2 separate regions of the Homo sapiens genome follow, and region 2 is linked to region 1. The links are contacts of gene promoters, found by promoter capture Hi-C in blood cells and fetal thymus (Javierre and others, 2016). All regions are on one chromosome and are shown on one strand. Each heading gives the region's core, a stretch centred on a gene start or on the middle of the fragment in contact. The rest is flanking DNA. Distances are from core to core; before and after follow the strand shown. Region 1 holds the start of ZDHHC3 (zDHHC palmitoyltransferase 3). Region 2 overlaps SACM1L (SAC1 like phosphatidylinositide phosphatase).

Region 1 (3,586 bases), core at 568-3,067:
CCTGTGTCTTTCTGATCTGTCCATTTGCTGTCACCTCTTAAATCCTCAGTCTCCTCAGATATCCTAGCTTCTAAAATCCCACTTCCAGGGTCTCTCCTTTCTGAGCAATCTCTAGCACATCTAGAAAATATCATTTATAACATCAGCAATCTCATGTTATCTTATCACAACAGAGCTCCTCACATAAAACCCAGCCGTCCAACCACACACAAACACATCTAAGTGCCACAACAGGTGGGGCACCTGTGCCTTCATTAGGGAGGAAATCCTTCCGGCTTCACCTCTTTCAGTTTCCCTGGAAGGCAAAGTCCAACCCTGCAAGCTGTCTTCCTTTTAGGTGCCCCTGTGGAGAATTACGTAGAGACATAAGAAACATCTAATGTCCAGTCTACGAAGAACTGATCATCAATTTTGGAGCTCAGCAGTTTAATGCTTAAGAATGTGAGCAAGCACTTCCTCTCTATAACCTTATCAGACGACCTCCCAATCCCACTGTGCCCACTGATGCGACCATCATAGCTCTAACCACCATGATCTGTGGTTATGTTGGCCCTGGAGCCTTCATCTGCCCAGGGAACTTCTCTGGGCATAGTATGTTTTACTTGTCTTGTGTTCTAAAGGTAGCACAAAGCCTATCTATAGTAGGCTCCCAATAGTTATCTGAAACTGTATTTGAACCCACTATCTGATAAATACCATTTTTTTTTTTTTTTGGCTGAGGGTCCTCAAAAATGGAACATCAGGAAAGTCATCAGAATTGCTTTAACCTGCCCTCCTTGCTTCAACTAATTTGGGTTAACTTTCTCCCATTTATCCACACGGCTCCTTTAAAACTTGCACCATACTTTGTCAGCCCCGCCTTAATGAGTTCCTTTGGTGACCCCAGCTTCACCTTGCAGATATCCTCTCCGGGTATCCAATGCCCATACTCCCACTCGGCCATCGCAAGGGGTTGGGGTTGGCTTTTTTTCGGGCAACTGCTCACAGCTCCCAGTAATCACTTCCATCAAGCCGGGGTTTCCAGTTCCCGCTAGGAAGCGTTGGGGACGTCCGGGCACTGCGCACCTCGCCAGTGCCGGTTACCAAGCGCCTCCTCCCCCGTCTGTGGGACAACGCTCTGGTAAGCACCCGAGGCAAGAGGTCCCAGCAAGGTAATGGGACAGCGTTCGGTCACAGAGAGTGAGCGAGCCAGCGAGAGATATTCCTGGGTGGAGGGGTGGGGACGCCTTAGGACTAGTGTCCCCCATTCCCGGACCCTTCCCACCAAGAACTACCTAGGGAGGGCTGCATCGCCTCTCCAGCCATCCTAGGGACTAGAGAAATGGAGGGGAGAAGAGCAGGGAAACAGCACCCCCGGGCCAATCACGACGTCCGCCCCTCCTTAGTCGGGGTCTCTCTCTCTCTCTCTCTCTCTCTCACACACACACACACACACACACACACACACACGCTCCTAAGTCAACTCCAGCTCTGAGCAACTACGCCGCACGCCTCTCCCACTGGGAGTCCCCCGGCCCGTGAGGCTCGCCTCACCCCAGCTTCTTCACCCCTACCCCAGTTTCCCTTCCCAACTGACCGTGAAGCCGGAGGCAGTTCCCCAGTCCCAGACCCCGGTGGGGCTCCCGCCGCCGCCGCCGCTGCCTTCCCCTGCAGTCCCCAACCCGGGACCCGGCCTCGGGCTTCGGCGATGGCTCCTCGGAACGAGGCGCCGCGGCTCTCTGGACTCGGCCAGACACCGGGCGGCGCGCAGGAGAAGCCCATCGAGCTCTCCCGGCAGTGGCGGCGGCCGCGGCTGCAGGAGCGGCCGCCGCGCAGGTTGATGACGCGCTGACGCGGGGCGGGGGGGGGTGGGACGTGGGGGCGCGGTCCAGAGGAGGGGACGCGCGCAGATGACGTGCGGCTCGTGGGGCAGCTCGGCAGCATGGCGTCCGTGACGCTGAGCGAGGCGGAGAAGGTGTACATCGTGCATGGCGTCCAGGTAGCTACAGCAGCGGCGTTGGGTCGGCCGCCGGGTTCAGCCTGGCCCTGCGGGTCGCGGCCTGCCCTGGGTTTGCCAGTGAGGAGGCAGCCGAGCTGCGGCGACTCTCCGTTTACCTTGTGATTAAACGGTTCTGCTGCCGGCGTTTGCAATTCAGAGCTGGCAACGTGGACGTTTTTAGGACTGTTAGCGCATTTGCAGTTTTGCGGGTCTATAAGATTCCGAACCCGGGCAGGAAGCTTGGGCAGTCTCGGAGGCCTTTTCTTAGTGAGAGAGCATCGGCCCCAGGGCCATCCATTCGGCGTTCGCGCACAGATCTTGTCCGAGCCTCAGTTTTCTCTTCGAGGAAATGGGAGTTTGGAGGTGGGCTTCTGGCCTGCTTTTCCTCACCTCGTGGTTAGGAGGGCGCATGCGAGGTGAACGCACTTTGAAAATACAAATTGCCGTACAAATAAAGGGGGAAGGGTTTTTAAAAAGCGGCTAGGACGCCTGTAATCCCAGCACTTTGGGAGGCCGAGGCGGGCGGATCACGAGGTCAAGAGACCGTCCTGACCAACATGGTGAAACCCCGTCTCTGCTAAAAATACAAAAAAATTTAGCTGGGCGTGGTGGCGCACGCCTGTAGTCCCAGCTACTCGGGAGACTGAGGCAGGAGAATCGCTTGAACCCGGGAGGCGGAGGTTGCAGTGAGCCGAGTCTCAAAAAAAAAGCGGCTAGGCAGCCGATAGCCTAAGTGCTGTTTCCATTTTGCCAATGAAGAACTAAGATCCCTAGGCAGCTATAACCTAATGTCCTCTGTGTTCTATATTAAATCCCTGGTTATGACCACTCCAGAACGAGGGTTGAAAAATGTTGGACCTGGTAACGAGCTACCCTGTATCCTCCTCCGGCTGTGTCTCCACTTGTTAACCTACGGTGTGGTCCTCCTATCAGAGTTCTTCATCCCATCCTTGGCAGAGTTCTGGCGACAGCTCCTACCTCTTTTCCTCATGCCTTTCCTCTGTCAGTACCAACTGCAAAGTCAGTGGTCCCGTGATGTAGCCATCGGATTGAAGCGGCCAGCTATCATTGAAGTCCCACAACGTGAGTTAAGGACATGTCCATTTAAAAATCGTGACCTGCCGTTATCTTCTGGGCCCTTTATATATGAAGAAATGCCAATATTTAGCATATTATGCCTGGATAATAAAGTCAGAACTCACAGTTGCATATTTTAGTTATAATTCAGGATTAACAACAGTGGGACATATGTGTGTATTACAGGGTAACATGTATGTTATTTGTGTGTGAGGGGGCATAAAAATGCCCAAAAGCAGTTAGATATGTCTTTCCCTGCTATATTTTTGTATACACTTTGTTCAGGTGATTTTTATCCTCAAAGTATTTTTTTAGGGACACATTACGGATAACCGTTTTCCTCTAAATTTAAAAACCTTTGGTCTTCTTTGTTACCGGAGCTTACCATGATGTAGTGACTCTGTCATGTGTCCTATTTTCTCTCAACATTTCATCCCTGAAAGTGGCACTGAGGCATGGATATATCTGTAACCTCAAGGTTAGAGCTTTCTCCCCAGCACCCTTAATTCCCACGGCAGTTCATTAGCTATC
Region 2 (3,586 bases), core at 337-2,836, 720 kb after region 1:
AGAATGAGTCTTTCTAGAAACACCAACTGGTTTGGAATTGGGTTGTGCCCCTGGGGAGTCTGTGATGAACTTGAGCTATAGGAGAGGCAACCAGGGAGGGCTCAGTGAGGAGATACCCAAAGGGAGGATGAATGGGGGAGGTAGGAGCACCTTCTGCCTATGAGTGTAGTATGTGCAGGGGATCCTTCTTTACTAAGTTGTTTTCTTTTTGCTCACCAAACCTAGTAAAGTGTTGTGCCTCTGTCTTTTCAACCAGAGATGTATTAAATTTGATCATTAAGACCTTGATTTAATTCTTTTTTTTTTTTGAGATGGGGTCTCACTCTGTTGCCCAGGCTGGAGTGCAGTGGCGCAGTCTCGGCTCACCACAACCACCACCTCCCAGGTTCAAGTGATTCTTGTGCCTCAGCCTCCCTTGTAGCTGGGACTACAGGCATGCACCACCAGGCCCGGCTAATTTTTGTATTGTTAGTAGAGACAGAGTTTCACCATGTTGGCCAGGCTGGTCTTGATCTCCTGACCTCAAGTGATCCACCTGCCTCGGCCTCCCAAAGTGTTGGGATTACAGGCATGAGCCACTGCACCCAGCCAAATTCTTTACGTAAGATTTTTGAGGGAATATGTTCTTGCTACAGTTTTATGACATATCACTGTGGCTCCTATGCAAAATAGTGGTTTCATTATTTTTAAAAATTGTGGTAAAATAAAACATTAAATTTACCATCTCAACCATTTTTAAGTATACAGTTCAGGGGCAATAAGCACATTCATGTTGTACAACCGTTATCACCATCCATCACCAGAACCGTTTTCATCTTGCAAAAATAAACTCTGTACCCATTAAACAACTCCCCATTTCTGTATCCTCCCAGCCCCTGGCAACCACCGTTCTACTTTCTGTCTCTATAAATTTGACTTCTCTAGATGCCTCATGAAGTGGCAGTATTTGTCCTTTTATGACTGGTTTATTTCACTTAGCATAATGTCCTTAAGGTTCATCCATTGTGTAGCATGTGTCAGAATTTCCTTTTTTTTTTTTTTTTTTGAGATGGAGTCTCGCTCTGTTGCCTATGCTGGAGTACAGTGGTGCGATCTCGGCCCACTGCAACCTCTGCCTCCTGGGTTCAAGCAATTCTCCTGCCTTAGCCTCCTAAGTAGCTGGGATTTCAGGTGCCTGCCACCACGCCCAGCTACTGTTTTGTATTTTTAGTAGAGACAAGGTTTCACTGCATTTGCCAGGATGGTCTCCATCTCCTGACCTCGTGATCCGCCTGCCTCGTCCTCCCTGAGTGTTGGGATTCCAGGCCTGAGCCACTGTGCCTGGCCCAGAATTTCCTTTCTAAGGCTGAATAATATTCCATTATATGTATGTACCACATTTCGTTTGTTCATTTGTTAATAGACACATAGGTGGCTTCCACCTTTTTGGCTATTGTGAGTAATGCCAGTATGAATGTGAGTATACAAATACCTTTTTGAAACCCTACTTTCAGTTATTTTGAGTATATACCCGGAAGTGGAATTGTTGGGTCATATGGGAATTCTATTTTTAATTTTTAATGGGCCACCATACTGTTTTCCCATAGTGGCTGCACCGTTTTACATTCCCACCCACAAAGCACCAGGATTCCAGTGTCTCCGCATCCTAGCCAACACTCGTTATTTTCTATCCTGGGTTTGTTTTTTTTTTCCTTCTAGATAATAGCCATTTTAATGGGTATGAGGTTGGTAAGTAGTAATGTTTTTGTAGTGGGCCAGTTTTACTCATTGATTTGACAGGATTTTAAAGAGATCAGTTGTCTGAAATAAGACGTGAATGTTACATGAGAGATAAATGTTTTCAGACACTAGAAAATCGCAATGCCAACACTGAAAGAAAATAAAAATATTTGATGTTAATATTATAATTAAAGATATTGCTTTTCTTAAAATTTAACAAGACTAATTTTTTAAAAAACACTCTTAAGAGCTGTTGAATCCCAGGTGACTATAAGATTAAATGCATTTGTATTAAGTGTAATACCAGAACTGCCTTTGTTGCATTTAGCTTTTAGTCCCAGTTCCACTTCTGGGATACTCAAAATAATTAAAAGTAAGGTCTCAAAGAGGGATTTGTATACCCCTGTTCATAGCAGCATTATTCACAACAGTCAAAAAGGAGGAAGCAACCTAAGTGTTGATTCTTTCTTTTTTTTTTATTTCAACATTTTTTGTAGAGATGAGATCTCGCTGTGTTGACCAGGCTGGTCTCAAACTCCTGGCCTCAAGATCCTCCTGCTTTGTTTTTCTTTTCTTTTCCTTTTTTTTTTTTTTTTTTTTTTTTTAAGACAGGCTCTTGCTCTGTTGCCCAGGCTGGAGTGTAGTGGTGCGATCTTGGCTCAGAGCAGCCTCTGCCTCCCAGGTTGAAGTGATCCTCCGACCTCAGCCTCCTGAATAGCTGAGGCCACAGGTGCATACCACCACACCTGGCTAATTTTTGCATTTTTTGTAGAAACGGGGTTTTGCCATGTTGCCCAGGCTGGTCTCAAACTCCTGGGCTCAAGCAGTCCTCCTGCCTCAGCCTCCCAAAGTGCTAGGATTACAGGCATGAGCACTGTATCCAACCACTTTTTCTTTTTTATGCCATGCTTGGACAGTAATCCTTAAAAGCAAAATGACGAACTGAATGAAGGTAGTCAAAATAGGAGCAATTATTATACAAGTATTATGCTATTTTGATATATCTTCCATAGTATGTGTCTTATTAATGGGAACCAGAACTCTGGGTAGGTATGGGATCCCCTTGTCTTGACAGATATTTGGTAGGATTCTTGTTCAGTTAGAGTTAATAGTGAATTGGAGGCTAATCACCTCACCAGATAGTTTATATAGGACCAGAACCCTTTTTAGTATACAGTATTACTTTGAACCTTAGAGATCTGTTATCAACAGTATAGATAATGACCAAATAATCTTCTTGGATCGAATCTTGTCTTCCGAAATCCATTTCATAAAATAAGTAATATGATAGCTTGTTTGGTAAAGATTTAAACACAAAAATAGCAATAAAACAATACACACCAGGAAAAATTATACCACTGAATGTTTACTTAATTGTTTTTGACGGTTTAAATGCTAGAGAGTTAAAGTTAATTTCACTGGCTTTTGAAATGAAGCCCAGGAAGCATAAAACATAGAATAAAATTTATTACATAAAACAATTATGCTTCAGATCAGTATTAAGACCAATACAAAAGTGGTGGGAAATGAGAGGAAGAGAACAGTAAGGGCATATATGTAGGTGCCGTGAGTTAGGATGATACCTGCTGTTATGGTTAACAGAATTGTGAGTCATTACTTCTAATGAGCATCCCTAGAAATGTTGATTCCCTGGCAGTCACTGTTCACATTTTCATTGCTCCAATTCTTAAGCCTAGAGATACCACTTTCAGTGACATTATCAGAATAGCCTGATGGCAGCATCAGCAATTTAGATTCCAACAGCATCTCTCAGAGAGAGAAGATCAAGCAAAGGCCTCAGGACTTTTGAGCGAGACATCTCTACCTTGATCCATAATTACTCTTATTTGTATACTTTGTTATAATA

What was found. The method cuts DNA at HindIII sites, captures the fragments that hold promoters and counts their contacts. A CHiCAGO score of 5 or more calls a contact.
Region 2: a contact is called between a fragment that was not itself captured here and the fragment with the promoter of ZDHHC3 in region 1, in 1 of 17 cell types (fetal thymus). The highest score is 5.3, in fetal thymus.

The regions. Positions count from the first base shown.
Region 1 is chr3:44,974,357-44,977,942 of GRCh38, forward strand. It overlaps ZDHHC3 (zDHHC palmitoyltransferase 3), which reads right to left and starts at 1,818. Exons shown (of 7, transcript NM_001135179.2): 1 at 1,577-1,818. EXOSC7 (exosome component 7) reads left to right here and starts at 1,888. Exons shown (of 8, transcript NM_015004.4): 1 at 1,888-1,978. The coding sequence starts at 1,922. RefSeq lists an enhancer at 798-1,342 and silencers at 1,565-1,664, 1,785-1,854. The HindIII fragment of the contact is 4,817 bases long and covers 1-2,215 here.
Region 2 is chr3:45,694,971-45,698,556 of GRCh38, forward strand. The region is part of intron 1 of SACM1L (SAC1 like phosphatidylinositide phosphatase); the gene reads left to right. Among named protein-coding and RNA genes, the nearest start is that of SACM1L, 7.4 kb to the left of the region's middle. The HindIII fragment of the contact is 5,170 bases long and covers 1-3,586 here.